Linked DNA regions of Homo sapiens: region 2 is linked to region 1. Evidence: promoter capture Hi-C in human tissues and cell types (Jung and others, 2019). All regions are on one chromosome and are shown on one strand. Each heading gives the region's core, a stretch centred on a gene start or on the middle of the fragment in contact. The rest is flanking DNA. Distances are from core to core; before and after follow the strand shown. Region 1 holds the start of OR5K3 (olfactory receptor family 5 subfamily K member 3). Region 2 has its middle 12 kb from the start of OR5H6.

Region 1 (7,363 bases), core at 1,951-4,450:
ACAAGTTGATGATAAGATACAGAAAACAATGGGATATCTAGAACACCAAAATAAGAAAAATTGATTTGGTTTGAAAAGTAATGGGAATTTTATAAATTCTTGAGCAGTGCAGTATTATTTTTTCCCCCTTTCATTCAGCAAGTCCTCAATTAGCACTAAAGAGTGCCAGACACGGCCAGGCGTGGTGGCTCACGCCTGTAATCCCAACACTTTGGGAGGCCGAGGCAGGCAGATCACGAGGTCAGGAGATCGAGACCATCCTGGCTAACATGGTGAAACCCCGTCTCTACTAACTATACAAAAAATTAGCCGGGCATGGTGGAGGGTGCCTGCAGTCCCAGCTACTCGGGAGGCTGAGGCAGGAGAATGGCATGAACCTGGGAGGAGGAGCTGGCAGTGAGCCGAGATCGTGCCTCTGCACTCCAGCCTGGGCAACAGAGTGAGACTCCGTCTCAAAAAAGAAAAAAAAAAAAAAGAGTGCCAGACACTGTTCAAGATATTTGAAATGCAGGATTGAATGTGTCAAAGAAACCCCTTCCCTTTAAGCCTATATGCTAATGATAGTGATGGGACAGGAGTGACCGATTTTAGATGTCCTAACAAATATATAGTATATCGAGGAGTGAAGTGTGAAGAAGGAAACAACAGGGTAAAGGACAGCTGGTATGAGCAGAAAAGACGGTATAGCAATCTCAATAATTCATATGGGGAGCCAGATAATAATAATATCAAAGTTTCCCTGAGGGCATTGTAGGATGTGGGAACAAATTCACCTCACAGAGTGAAGAAGTTGATGACCTTGGCCGCACTTTCTACACTTTCTTGGATCCTCTTTAAATACTAATTATTTTCTACAAAGCATATTAGTCACACTTCCCCCAGTAACAGGTCAAACCAGCCTGAGACTATTTTCTGCCTGTTTTATCTTGTATGTTCAGAATAGTGAATAAAATTGTAAAAATGAGATCGGTTTCATATGAATCAGCAAGATGATCATCAAACAGACTTTAGTGAAGGTCATTTGTTTTTACCTCATTATCTCACAAGACATCTTTAATTAATTTCAAGTGGTTTATATATTTTTAGGACTGAGTCCACAGAATTACACTGATGTCAGTGCAGAGAAATCCCTTTAGGATTTGGTGGAAAGCTTTAACTTTGCAGTGTTACAGATATAATTATCAACACTGACCTACTAGTAGTCTCCTAGATTTTCATTCTTTTAATCCCAAATGTTTTAGAGGCCAAGGTTTATATTCTTTAATTTTATGAAAACCACATCATAAAGCTGTTACAAAGCTCTTCTCAGTAAAATCTAGGTAAGAGAAGCGTGCTAACTTATTTTTACTTCTAATTTTAGCAACCATAAAGCTCTGAATTATTTAGTACCTCTGAATTATTTAGTATCTTTTATTGTTCTTAAATTTCAGCTTTTTTCTAATCTTTCTAGCACTTTTCAAAATTGAATGCTATGAAGAACTAGGATGAGACACAATACTGCAATTTGTCTGACTTTCTGATTGTAACAGAATTTCAAAACACATAAGTAAAGTTACAAAGAAATTCTGTTAAATAATTTAGGCATGTACATAGAAAGTTATTGCTAACTTAACTGACTACATGGCTTACATTTATTATTTTAAAACGAATTAATAAAATAGTCAGCCCATGTTTTTGTTTTAATATTTTGAATATAAAAACATGTCTATTTTGACCATAGAACTTATATGATTTGAATTATCAGTCAGTATGTCCTAATGAATCACTATGCAGGGAAAGGAAATAGCCTTTTAAAGCAAAACAAAATTTGACTTCAAAAATCCTATTAAGATATAAAGGATTTTCTCCTTTTTCCTAAGTGTTAGAAGGCTATAGTATAAAGGTGAGCTTGCTTTTACTTAGTAGCTTTTAATCTGCTATAGTATACTTCAGAAAATCTTATATAATTTTCTGAAGAAACAGAAAAATGGTAGAAAAGAGTCAATTTAGATAAAAGAAAGACACCTAAAATTTTATGTAATGATTTTATATATTTCTTTGTAGACTTTCCTTTAAAGCTAATAGTCTGCAGAAACCAAAGAATCATTAAGGATCATTAGTAGAATTCATAAAGCAACTTTACTCATTCCAGGTCATCAGGGTGGAGCTAATACTGAAATTAATACTGCCTTTTCCCCCATAGTATTTTACAGCTCTTTTCACAGAAGTATAAATCACAACTAACCTCAAAATGCTTACAATATAAGAAAATTGAATAGACTGACATTTTTAAAAAGCAATGTATATATAGGCAAGAAATTCTGAATTGTGTGGAGTATATAAGAGAGCATCTACCGTTCGGAAAATGGAAATCTGTGTGGACTGGGGCAATTAGTTAAAACTTTAAGTAGCATTATATAAAAAGTATTCCTTATCAAAAGGAGGAAGGATTTAGGCATGTAAGAGAAAATCAACAGGAATAATAGAATGGATAGAGTCAATGTTTATGAAATGGGTGTGACACTGGGGAAAGGGATGAGACAAGTGATAATCTACGGATGTTTATTTCTTTAAATCTCCAAGATAATTTTCTTTAAAGATAAATATTTTCCTCCTCAGTTCTTGGTGAATTTCATACAGTTCCTAAGATATAAATTTAACATATCTGTTATATGCTTTTTTAAAACATTCAATCTACTGGAAGAATATATAGAAATTATTTTCTTGGAGAGAGATGTGTGTGCGTGTGTGTGTGTGTATATATATATATATAGCCCCATATAATATATATATTCTATATTATATGACATATATATATATATTATAAATTTGTTTTAAGGAGGATCTTCAATACAAAACTGACAGTGAAATTATTTGAGAACAATGAACCAGATAGGGGTCCCCTAGTTTTTTATGCTATCCTTGCATAAATTTATAAAGATGAACCATTTCCACTTTAAACATCTTCCCTGGAATTATCAAAATATCCTTGTGAATCCTAAGGGTCAGAGCTTGAGGTCACAGACACTGACACTTTAGGAGAACAAATGTCCCCTAGAAGTATGTGAGGATGTATTTAGAAACAGCAGGGGAAATATGACAAAGAAATTCCTCTACTTGTTGTAAAAAGGAAAAAAATTGAAGGAACAATAATATGCTCTCAATTACAATCAATTACAATATTATAACCCCTCATTCATCTCTCAACAGACAAGGTGGAGATGAATAAGGAGAATCACTCCTTGATAGCTGAGTTCATCCTCACAGGATTTACATATCATCCAAAGCTGAAGACTGTTCTGTTTGTGGTGTTCTTTGCCATCTATCTGATCACCATGGTGGGGAACATTGGTTTGGTGGCATTGATTTATATAGAGCAACGTCTTCACACACCAATGTACATATTTTTAGGCAACCTAGTTCTGATGGATTCCTGCTGTTCCTCTGCTATTACTCCCAAGATGTTAGAGAACTTCTTTTCTGAGGACAAAAGGATTACCCTGTATGAATGTATGGCACAATTTTATTTTCTCTGTCTTGCTGAAACTACAGACTGCTTTCTTCTGGCGGCAATGGCCTATGACTGCTATGTGGCCATATGCAACCCACTGCAGTACCACACCATGATGTCCAAGACACTCTGCATTCAGATGACTGCAGGAGCCTACCTAGCTGGCAACCTGCATCCCATGATTGAAGTAGAGTTTCTGTTGAGGTTAACTTTCTGTGGGTCTCATCAAATCAATCATTTTTTCTGTGATGTTCTTCCATTATATAGACTTTCTTGTATTAACCCTTATATCAATGAATTGGTGTTATTTATCTTGGCAGGATCAATTCAAATCTTTACTATAGTCTTAGTTTCTTATTTCTACATCCTTTTCACAATATTTACAATGAAATCCAAGGAGGGAAGAGGCAAAGCTTTATCTACTTGTGCATCTCACTTTCTCTCTGTGTCAATATTCTGTGATTCCCTTCTCTTCATGTATGCTCGACCAGGTGCAGTTAATGAAGGGGATAAAGATATACCTGTTGCTATATTTTATACTTTAGTTATTCCTTTATTAAATCCTTTTATTTATAGCCTAAGAAATAAGGAAGTAATAAATATTATGAAAAAAATTATGAAGAAGAGAAAATTTTGTCACATTCTGAAACAAATGTCATCCCCTCTGGCAACTTGATAATACTTTATTTTAAATCAAGGGATAGTGAGGCAGTTTACAAGGCCACTTTGAATATAAAATATTAAATTATTTAAAAATAATGATATAGGAGTTCAAAATGTTCAGAAAGGAGAAATTCCTGTAAAATATACTTCAAAATCTAAGCTACTAGTGTTCATCAAAAGTGAACTAAATTATTCATGAAGTCTCAGATTGTGTCAGAGTGTAATTAGTTACAATTTTCAGCAAATCCAACAAATACTAGGAATAAATGTCAGTACATATAACGGTAGTGTGCATTTACTATTGTTGGCAAATTTCTGGAATCTTAAAGCATAATTTTACGAACTCAGGCACATTCCAAGTTCTCAAACATTAGTCCCTTTTTAACCAGAATCATCTGTGAGAAGTAAATTGTCTGTCTGAATTTGATTCTAACTTTTTTTGAGTTCTTTCAAGAGATTGCTTGAAAAATTATTCATGCAGAATATGTATTCTCTAATCAATAATATTTTCATATTTAGTGTTAGTCATTAGTCATTTTACATTCTCAAGTTCTATGAAACAGAGTACCTGTATTGATTGCTTTTCCCTTTCTATAATGCCATAATTTTAAAAATGTATTTCTGGGCTTGGCACAGTAATCTGGGCTTATGCCTGTAATCCTAGCACTTCCAGAGGCCAAGGCAGGTAGATCACCTGAGGTCAGGAGTTTGAAACTAGCCTGGCCAACATAGTGAAACCCCATCTCTACTAAAAATATTTTTAAAATTAGCCAGGCATGGTGCATCCTTATAATCTCGACTACCTAGGAGACTGAAGCAGGAGGATCGCTTGAACCCTGGAGGTGGATGTTGCAGTGAGCTGAGATCAGGCCACTGCACTCTAGCTTTGGTGTCAGAGTGAGACTCTGCCTCAAAAAATATATAGAAATAAATAAAAAGTGTGTTTCTGTGTCATTCACTCTCAACTCTTAGTAACACTGAATCCCAGACATCTATTCAGGGAAGAGTTTGTGACTTATATGGAGCCAGTGAGACAGAAAAGGTGATTTTTTCCTGAAAAATGAGTTTTCTTATTTTAAAAGAGATCCACAAAAAATAGTCTTTCTCTCTCTGAGTGTTACGGTATGCGGATATGAAACCCAGCAGAGCCAATTCCCTTTCACCATCAAGAGGAAAACCAGCCTGGAGTTGTAGTCAATACTCAAATGAGGGCATAGCTGAAGAAATCACACAGAAATAGACCCAAAATCTCTGGAGTAAACCATCTCTTCTGACTGTATAATCCAATAGACCTTCTTATCTTTTAAGCTTATTTGGCAGAGATGTTTTATTCATGACTGAATAAATACTAACGGATACATTCCTGCTTCTTGACTATCACTCGTATTTGTCTCTTTATATTCTATTTTAAATTAATCCTCAGGTGATCTTTTAGTTTTCAAATAACTTTTCAGTGGTATCCATTTTACTGTACAGCAAATTAATTAGGTTTTTTACTCTTATTACTATTTTAATTTCTAATAACCTTACTTTAAAAAAAATGAGGGACAGAGAAATTTCTTGTCTACAGAAATACAGTGGTAGAGCTCAGGAACCAAACCCAGGCTATCTGGCTCCAGAATCCATGGTCTTAACCACTAAGTCATACTGTACATAGCACAAACTAAAAGCAGGAGAGGAAACATTTTAACAATCTCAGCTGTGAAGTGGGCAGAGAAATAGGGCAGAGATTCAAAAGAGATATGGATCAAAGACATTTACCTCCAAATTTATTTTGAAAAATTTCAAACCTACAGAAAAGTTGAAAAAAGTATATGATTAACATTCATATACTTCTTTTAGCCAATTAAGCAATCAAACAATTGTTAACAATTATTGAACAATTATTAACATTTTACAATACTTGCCTATCACCAAATGTGTATATAGGTATATAATACCTATATACATACTTATAATATATATATACATTAATGCAGTACAAATGTACATATATATTACATGTCCATATGGATATTATACAAATGACACATATACACATAAATATATACTTACAATACATGTATACATACAGTTAATACCTATATACATAGATACATTTTTTAATAATCAAAACATCTAAATAGGGCACTGGCTTGTTATTAGCAGTTCCACCAACCTGAACTACTTTAATTGTAAATTACTGATGGGCTCACAGCAATAACAGAACATTAAGATGCTGTTAGGCATAAATGATGCAGAAAATAGGGATTCCAAGCATCTAAACAATATTTATTTATTAAATACACAAATATGAAAAAAATTTACTGAGAAATTGCTATCTTGCTATGCACTAAGCTAGTGTCAAAGAAAACCAGAGCAGGACAAAAGTTAAAGTGCTAAATACAAAGTTGATTCAGGACTATTGCCATAGGGGCAGAAAAACCCCAGTGTAGAGCTTCATTTCAAATGCAGCAGGGAAAAGGGAGGTCTTGTAGCCAAAGAAGCAGGGGGTGGCCAGCGAATGAAAAATTATTAAGAAGAGACATCAAATCTAGGGGGAATTCTGGTTGAACCAATCGAAAAGGATTTATTTATTCTTTTATTTATTTATATTTGAGATAAATAAATCACATTGTCACCCATGCTGGAGTGCAGTGGTATGATCATAGCCCACTGAATCCATAGCACCTGAATCCTAACAGGATTTTTGCTGAAGGCAAGCCAGAGTATTCAGATACCAAGAATGGGAAGGGAAGAATTTTGATCAGATATAGAAGGTCATCAGGTATTGAGGATGGGAGGATTCTTGCTAGATTGTCTTTCTGCATTATTTACTAGAACTAGATTTTACAAGAAAGTACACAAGTCAGCCAAAGAGAAGGTTCAGAAGCCTGACCGTAGTTTGTTCAAGGGAAAAAGAGGCATTCTTCCCTTAAGTTTATTTCTCCTCCAGTTTGCTCATTTATGACTAGCAAAACCATCTGCTTGTACCTGGTGCAGGTTGCTAATTGTATTGTGAGATCAATGAGACATTTAATGAGAGGGATACCCATAAAGAAAAACAGAATGATAAATATTAGAGGCTGCTCTGCTGGGTTTTTTTTCTTCCAAGAAGGAAGCTTAGAAGCAGTGTTAGCACACCTCTCCCACTTGAAAGGACAGAATAGCATGTAGAGATTTATGCTGTGAACTTTTTTCAAGAAGCAACACAGGAACTTAACAAGAAAA
Region 2 (7,363 bases), core at 3,042-5,541, 140 kb before region 1:
CCCCCAAAATCCAGCTTGCAGATGGGAATGAACAACTGCTTGTCCTCCTCATGACACCAACATGACAAAAAAGAGTCATCCCACTAATCCCTTTACTTGTGGGTCTAGGACTTTGTGCCTTCACTATTGCACTTGGAACTGGAATAGCAGGTGTCTCAACCTCTGTCACAACATTCTGCAGCCTCTCTTATGACTTCTCTGCTAGCATTACAGATATATCACAAACTTTATCTGTCCTCCAAGCTCAGGTTGACTCTTTAGCTACAGTTGTCCTTCAGAACCACCAAGGCCTCGATTTACTCACTGCTGAAAAAGGAGGACTCTGTATATTTCTTAAAGAGGAGTGTTGTTTTTACTTAAATCAATCTGGCCTGGTATATGATAACATCAAAAAACTCAAAGACAGAGCTCAAAAACTTGCTAATCAGGCAACTAATTACACTGGACCCACCTGGCCACTCTCTAACTGGGTATCCTGGCTTCTTCCAATCATTAGTCCTCAATACCTATCCTCCTCCTTCTCTTATTCAGGCTTTGTGTCTTCCAATTAATCTCTCAATTCCTACGAAACCGCATCAAGGCTATCACTCATTACTCTATACAACAAATGCTGCTTTTAACAATCCCACAATATCACCCCTTACCCCAAAGTATTACTTAAGTCTAATCTCTCCCACTTAAGGTTCCCGTGCCACCTCTAATCCTGCTCAAAGCAGCCCTGAGAAACATCACCCATCACCCCTCCATACAACCCCCAAAATTTTCACCCCAAGTTTTCACTACTCTTTCTTGTTTTATGTCTTCCTTATTAACATTAAAAAACAGAAATGTAAGGTCCTTTGATCTGGCTGCACCGTGGTCAAGCCATCATGACATTCCCCCCACCGTTGTGATAATGTACTTTGTGATATTCCCTGTCCAGTGCATGTACTTTGTAACATTCCTTCCCGCCCTTATGACAATACATCCTCCGTGCCCTTGTGAAGGTACTTTGTAACATCCTCCCCACCCTTCTGACAATACACCCTCCTTGCCCTTGTGAATGTACTTTGTAACATCCTCCCCACCCTTGAGAATGTATTTTGTAACATCCATCCACTGCCAGCAATAAATTGCTCCTGACTCCACCGCCTATCCCAAACCTATAAGAATCAATGATAATCCCACCACTCTTTGCTGACTTCTTTCTCAGACTCAGCCCACTCGCACCCAAGTGAATAAACAGACTTGTTGCTCTCACTAAGCCTGCTCAGATGGTCTCACACGGGCATGCATAACAGAAAGATCTCTACAAGTAGAACTACAAAACCCTTCTCAAAAAAATCAGAGATGACTCATACAAATGGAAAGACATTTCATGCTCATGGATAGGAAGAACCAGTATCATTAAAATGGCCTAAACGCCCAAAGCAATTTATAGATTCAATGCTATTCCTATCATTAGATTCATCAGAGAACTAGAAAAAACTGTTTTAGAATTCATATGGAACAATTCATATGGAAAAAGAGCCTGAATAGCCAAGGCCATCCCAAGCAGAAAGAACAAAGATAGAGCCATCATGCTACCCTACTTCAAACTATACTACAGGGCTACATTAACCAAAACAGCATGGTACTGGTACAAGAACAGATACATAGACCAATGGAACATAATAGAGAACCTAGAAATAAGACCACATACCTACAACCATCTGGTCTTCAACAAAACAAGCAATGGGGAAAGGATTCTTTATTTAAAAAGCGGTGTTAAGAGAACTGGCTAGCCTTATGCAGAAAATTGAAACTGAACTTCTTCCTTACACCATATACCAAAATAAACTCAAGATAAATTAAAGAGTTAAATGTAAAACCCAAAACTATAGAAACCTTAGAAGAATACCTAGGCAATACAATTCAGGACATAGGCATGGGCAAAGATTTCATGACAAAGATACCAAAACTGATTGCAACAAAAGCACAAATTGACCAATGGGATCTAATTAAACTAAAGAGCTTCTGCAGAGCAAAAGAAACTATCAACATGGGGTAAACAAACAACCTAAGAATGTGAGAAAATTTTTGCAGTGTGTGCATCCGACAAAGATCTAACATCCAGCATCTATAATGAACATAAACAAATTTACAAGAAAAAAAAAAACCCTATCAAAATGTGGGTGAACGATATGAACAGACACTTCTAAAAGAAGACATTTATGTGGCCAAAAAACATATCAAAAAAAGCTCAACATCACTGATCATTAGAGAAATGCAAATCAAAACCACAATGACATACCGTCTCACACCAGTCAGAATGGCTATTATTAAAAAGTCAAAGAATAATATATGCTAGTGAGGTTGTGGAGAAAAATGGAACACTTAGACAGTGTTGATGGGAGTGTAAACTGGCTCTACCACTGTGGAAGACAGTGTGGTGATTTCTCAAAGACATAAGAACAGAAATACCTTTTGACCCAGCAATCCAATTACTGAGGGTATACCCAAAGGAATGTAAATTGTTCTATTATGAAGACACATACATGTGTATGTTCATTACAGCATTAATCACATAGCAAAAACATGGAATCAACCTAAATGCTCATCAATAATAGACTGGATAATGAAAATGCAGTACATATACACCATGGAATACTATACAGTCATAGAAAGGAATGATACCGTGTCCTTTGCAGCAACATGGATAGAGCAGGAGGCCGTCATCCTTAGCAAACTAATGGAGAGACAGAAAACTAAATACTACAAGGTTCTCACTTATAAGTGGGAGCTAAATGATGAGAATATATGGACACTTAGTTGGGAACAGCACACACTGGGACCTATTGGAGGATGGAGGGTGGGAGGAGGGAGAATATCAAAAAAATAACTAATGAAATCTGGGCTTAATGCCTGGCTGGTGACATAATCTGTACAGCAAACCCCCTTGACACACGTTTACCTATGTAACAAACCTGCACAACCTTCACATGTACCCCTGAACTTAAAAGTTTAAAATTTTTATTTTTAATACTTGTGGATACATATATATATGTATGTGAGTGTGTGTATGTATATGTATATATGTGTATATATGTACATGTATGTATATGTATATATGTACCCCAGAGTATTTTTTTATATATTTATACTTATTCTACTATACAGACACATGCATTTGTGTCTTTATTGATGTGTTAGTCTCTCTCTCTATATTATATATATTATATATTTAATACTTGTGGGTACATATATATTCATATATATATACATGGGGTACATGAGATATTTTGATATAGGTATGCAACATGTTATAATCACATCATGGAAAATGAGGTATCCATCCCATCAACCATTTATCCTTAGTGATACAAACAATCCAAGTGTATTTCTTGGTAATTGTAAAATGTACAATTAAATTATTTTGACTATAGTAAACCTTCTGTCTACCAAATACTGGGTATTAATAATCATATCATGGAGAATAGAGTATATATCCTTTTACACATTTTTTTTGTGTTACAAATAATCCACTTATACTCTTTCAGTTATTTTTAAACATACAAGTGAAGAGGCAACCTAGCAAATAGGAGAAAACTTTTGCAATCTATCCATCTGACAAAGGTGTGATCTCCAGAATCTACAAGGAACTTAAACAAATTTACAAGAGAAAAACAAGCAATACCATCAAAAAGTGGGCAAAGGATATGAACTTCTCAAAAGAGGACATTATGTGGCCAAGAAATATATGAAAAAAGGCTCATCATCACTGGTCATTAGAGAAATGCAAATCAAAACCACAGTGAGATACCATCTCACCCCAATTAGAATGGCGATCATTAAAAAGTCAGGAAACAACAGATGCTGGAGAGGATGTGGAGAAATAGGAATGCTTTTACACTGTTGGTGGCAGTGTAAATTAGTTCAGCTATTGTGGAAGACAGTGTGGTGATTCCTCAAGGATCTAGAACCAGAAATACCATTTGACCCAGAAATCCTATTACTGGGTATATACCCAAAGGAATATAAATCATTCTACTATACAGACACATGCATTTGTATGTTTATTGAAGTGCTATTCACAATAGGAAAGACTTGGAACCAACCCAAATGCCCATCAATGATAGACTGGATAAAGAAAATGTGGCACATATACACCATGGAATACTATGCTGCCACAAAAAAGAACAAGTTCATGTCCTTTGCAGGGATATGGATGAAGTTGGAAACCATCATTCTCAGCAAACTGACACAAGAACAGAAAATCAAACACTGCATGTTCTCACTCATAAGTGGGAGTTAAACCATGAGAACACATGGACACAGGGAGGGTAACACTAAGCATCAGAGCCTGTTGGGGTGTGGGGGCCGTAGGGAGGGAGAGCATAAGGACAAATACTTAATGCATGCAGAGCTTAAAACCTAGATGACGGGTTGATGGGTGCAGCAAACCACCATGGCACATGTATACATATGTAACAAACCGGAACTTTCTGCACATGTATCCCAGAACTTAAAGCTTAATAAATAGTTTTTAAAAATTATTTACTACAGTCGCCCTTTTGTGATATCAAATAGTAGGTCTTATTTATTCTTTCTATCTATTATTTGTATCCATCAAGCATCCCCAAGTGCCCCTGAAATACCCAATACCCTTCTCAGCCTCTGGTTAACATTCTTCTACTCTCTGTGTGCATGAATTCAATTGTTTTGGTTTTTAGATGCCACAAGTAAGTGAGAATGTGTGATGTTTGTCTTTCTTTACCTGACTTATTTCATTTAACATGATGATCTCCAGTTCCATCCATGTTGTTGGAAATGACAGCGTCTCATTCTTTTTTATGGCTGAATTGAGACTCGTTGGGTATACATGCCACATTTTCTTTATCCATTCATTTGTTGATGGATACTTAGGTTGCTTCCAAATCTTGGCTATTGTGAACCATGCTGCAACACATATGTGCATGCAGATATCTATTCAATATACTGCTTTCCTTTTTGGGGGAGTATATATCCAGCAGTGGAATTACTGCATCATATGGTAGCTCTATTTTCAGTTTTTAGAGGAACCACCAAACTGTTCTCCATAGTGTTTATACTAATTTACATTCCCAACAACAGTGTATAAGGGTTCTCTTTTCTCCACATCCTTGCCAGCATTTATTATTGCCTGTCTTTTGGAGGCAAGCCATTTTAACTGGAGTGAGATGATATCTCATTGTAGTTTTAATTTGCATTTATCTAATGATCAATATGATGTAGAGCACCTTTCAAATGCCTGTTTTTCATTCATATGACTTCTTTTCAGAAATGTGTATTCAAATCTTTTGCCCATTTTAAAAATCAGATTATTCAATTTTTTTCCTATAGAGATGTTTGAGCTCCTTATATATTCTGGCTATTAATCCCTTGTCAGATGGGTAGTTTGTAAATATTTTCTCCCATTCTCTGGGTTGTCTCTTCACTTTGATGCTTGTATCCATTGCTGTGCTGAAGCTTTTTAACTTGATGTGGTGTCATTTGTCCATTTTTGCTTAGTTTGCTGTGCTTCTGGGTTGTTACTCAAAAAATTTTTGCCCTGCCCAATGTTCTGGATATATTCTCCAATGTTTTCTTTAGTAGTTTCATAGTTTGAAGTCTTGAATTTAAGTTTTAAATCCATTTTGATTTCAGTTTTCTATATGGTGAGAGATAGGGGTCTAGTTTTTTTCTTTTGCTTATGCATATCTAGTTTTCTGAGCACCATGTATTGATGAGACTGTCTTTCTCCAGTATGTGTTCTGGGAATTTTTGTTGAAAATGAGTTCACTGTAGATGTGTGCATTTGTTTCTGGATTCTTTATTCTGTTCCATTGGTCTGTGTGTCTATTTTTATGTCAACCGTGCTGGGTTTTTTTTTTTCTATAGTATCAGGGGAACCTGTCCCCAATATTTCAACATAGGTTCTTTCTATTTTCCATAAGTGTTGGCTGGATGAAAAATAAAGGGAAAGAGTACAAAGAGAGGAATTTTACAGCTGGGCCACCAGGGGTGACATCACATATCGGTAGGACTGTGATGCCCACCTGAGCCTCAAACCAGCAAGTTTTTTATTAAGGGTTTCAAAAGGGGAAGGGATGTAAGAATGGGGAGTAGATGACATGCTTCAAAGGGCGAAAAGGAGAACTACTGATAAGGGTCCAACAAAGATCACAAGGCAAAGGGCAAAAGCAGAACTACTGATAAGGGTCTATGTTCAGTGGTGCACGTATTGCCTTGATAAACATCTTAAACAACAGACATTCCCAGAGCGGCCATTTATAGACCTCCTGCAGGAATGCATTCCTTTCCGAGGATATTAATATTAATATTCTTTGCTAGGAAAAGAATTTAGTGATATCTTGCCTACTTGCACGTCCATTTATAGGCTCTCTGCAAGAATAAAAATATGGCTCTTTTTGCCCGACCCTGCAGGCAGTCAGACCTTATGGTTGTCTTCCCTTGTTCCCTAAAAATTGCTGTTATTCTGTTCTTTTTCAAGGTGCACTGATTTCATATTGTTCAAACACACGTTTTATAATCAATTTGTACAGTTAACACAATTATCACAGTGGTCCTGAGGTGACGTATATCCTCAGTTTATGAAGATAACAGGATTAAGAGATTAAAGACAGGCATAAGAAATTATAAAAGTATTATTTGGGAACTGATAAATGTCCATATTAAAATGAAACCTTCACAATTTATGTTCCTCTGCCACGGCTCCAGCCAGTCCCTCCATTCAGGGTCCCTGTCTTCCCACAACACTATAGCTCTGTAGTATATTTAAAGTCAGGTAACATGATTCCTCCAGTTTTGTTCTCTTAGCTTAGGATAGCTTTGGCTATTCTGGGTTTTCTTTTGTCATTCTATATATATTTTAGAATTGTTTCTTCTATTTCTTTGAAGAATGTCATTGGTATTTTGATAGGCAATGCACTGAATCTATAGATTGCTTTTGGCAGTGTGGACATTTTAACAATATTGATTCTTCCAATCCATGAACATAAAATATCTTTTCATGTTTTGATGTCATCTTTAACTGCCTTCATCGATGTTTTATAGCTTTCATTATTGAGATCTTTCACTTCTCTGGTTAATTCCTAAATACTTAATTTTACATGTGGCTACTGTAACTGTGATTACTTTTGAATTTCTTTTTCATATTGTTCACTGTTGCTATATAGAAATGCTACTTATTTTTGTATGTTGATTTTGTATCCTGCAAGTTTACTGAATTTGTTTACCAGTTCTAATAATTTTCTTTTTGAATTTTTCATTTTTTCCAAATACATAATTATATCATCTGCAAGCAGGATAATTTCACTTTTTCCTTTCCAATTTAGATGCCCTTTATACCTTTTCCTCTATGATT

Evidence for each region. The method cuts DNA at HindIII sites, captures the fragments that hold promoters and counts their contacts. A contact is called where the count stands out against the background at its distance.
Region 2: a fragment that was not itself captured here is called in contact with the fragment with the promoter of OR5K3 in region 1 in 2 of the 25 tissues and cell types used here (adrenal gland and aorta).

What each region holds. Positions count from the first base shown.
Region 1 is chr3:98,387,466-98,394,828 of GRCh38, forward strand. OR5K3 (olfactory receptor family 5 subfamily K member 3) reads left to right here and starts at 3,201. Exons shown (of 1, transcript NM_001005516.1): 1 at 3,201-4,166. The coding sequence starts at 3,201. The coding sequence ends at 4,166. The HindIII fragment of the contact is 5,260 bases long and covers 1-4,682 here.
Region 2 is chr3:98,248,566-98,255,928 of GRCh38, forward strand. No RefSeq gene overlaps it. Among named protein-coding and RNA genes, the nearest start is that of OR5H6, 12 kb to the right of the region's middle. The HindIII fragment of the contact is 4,375 bases long and covers 2,105-6,479 here.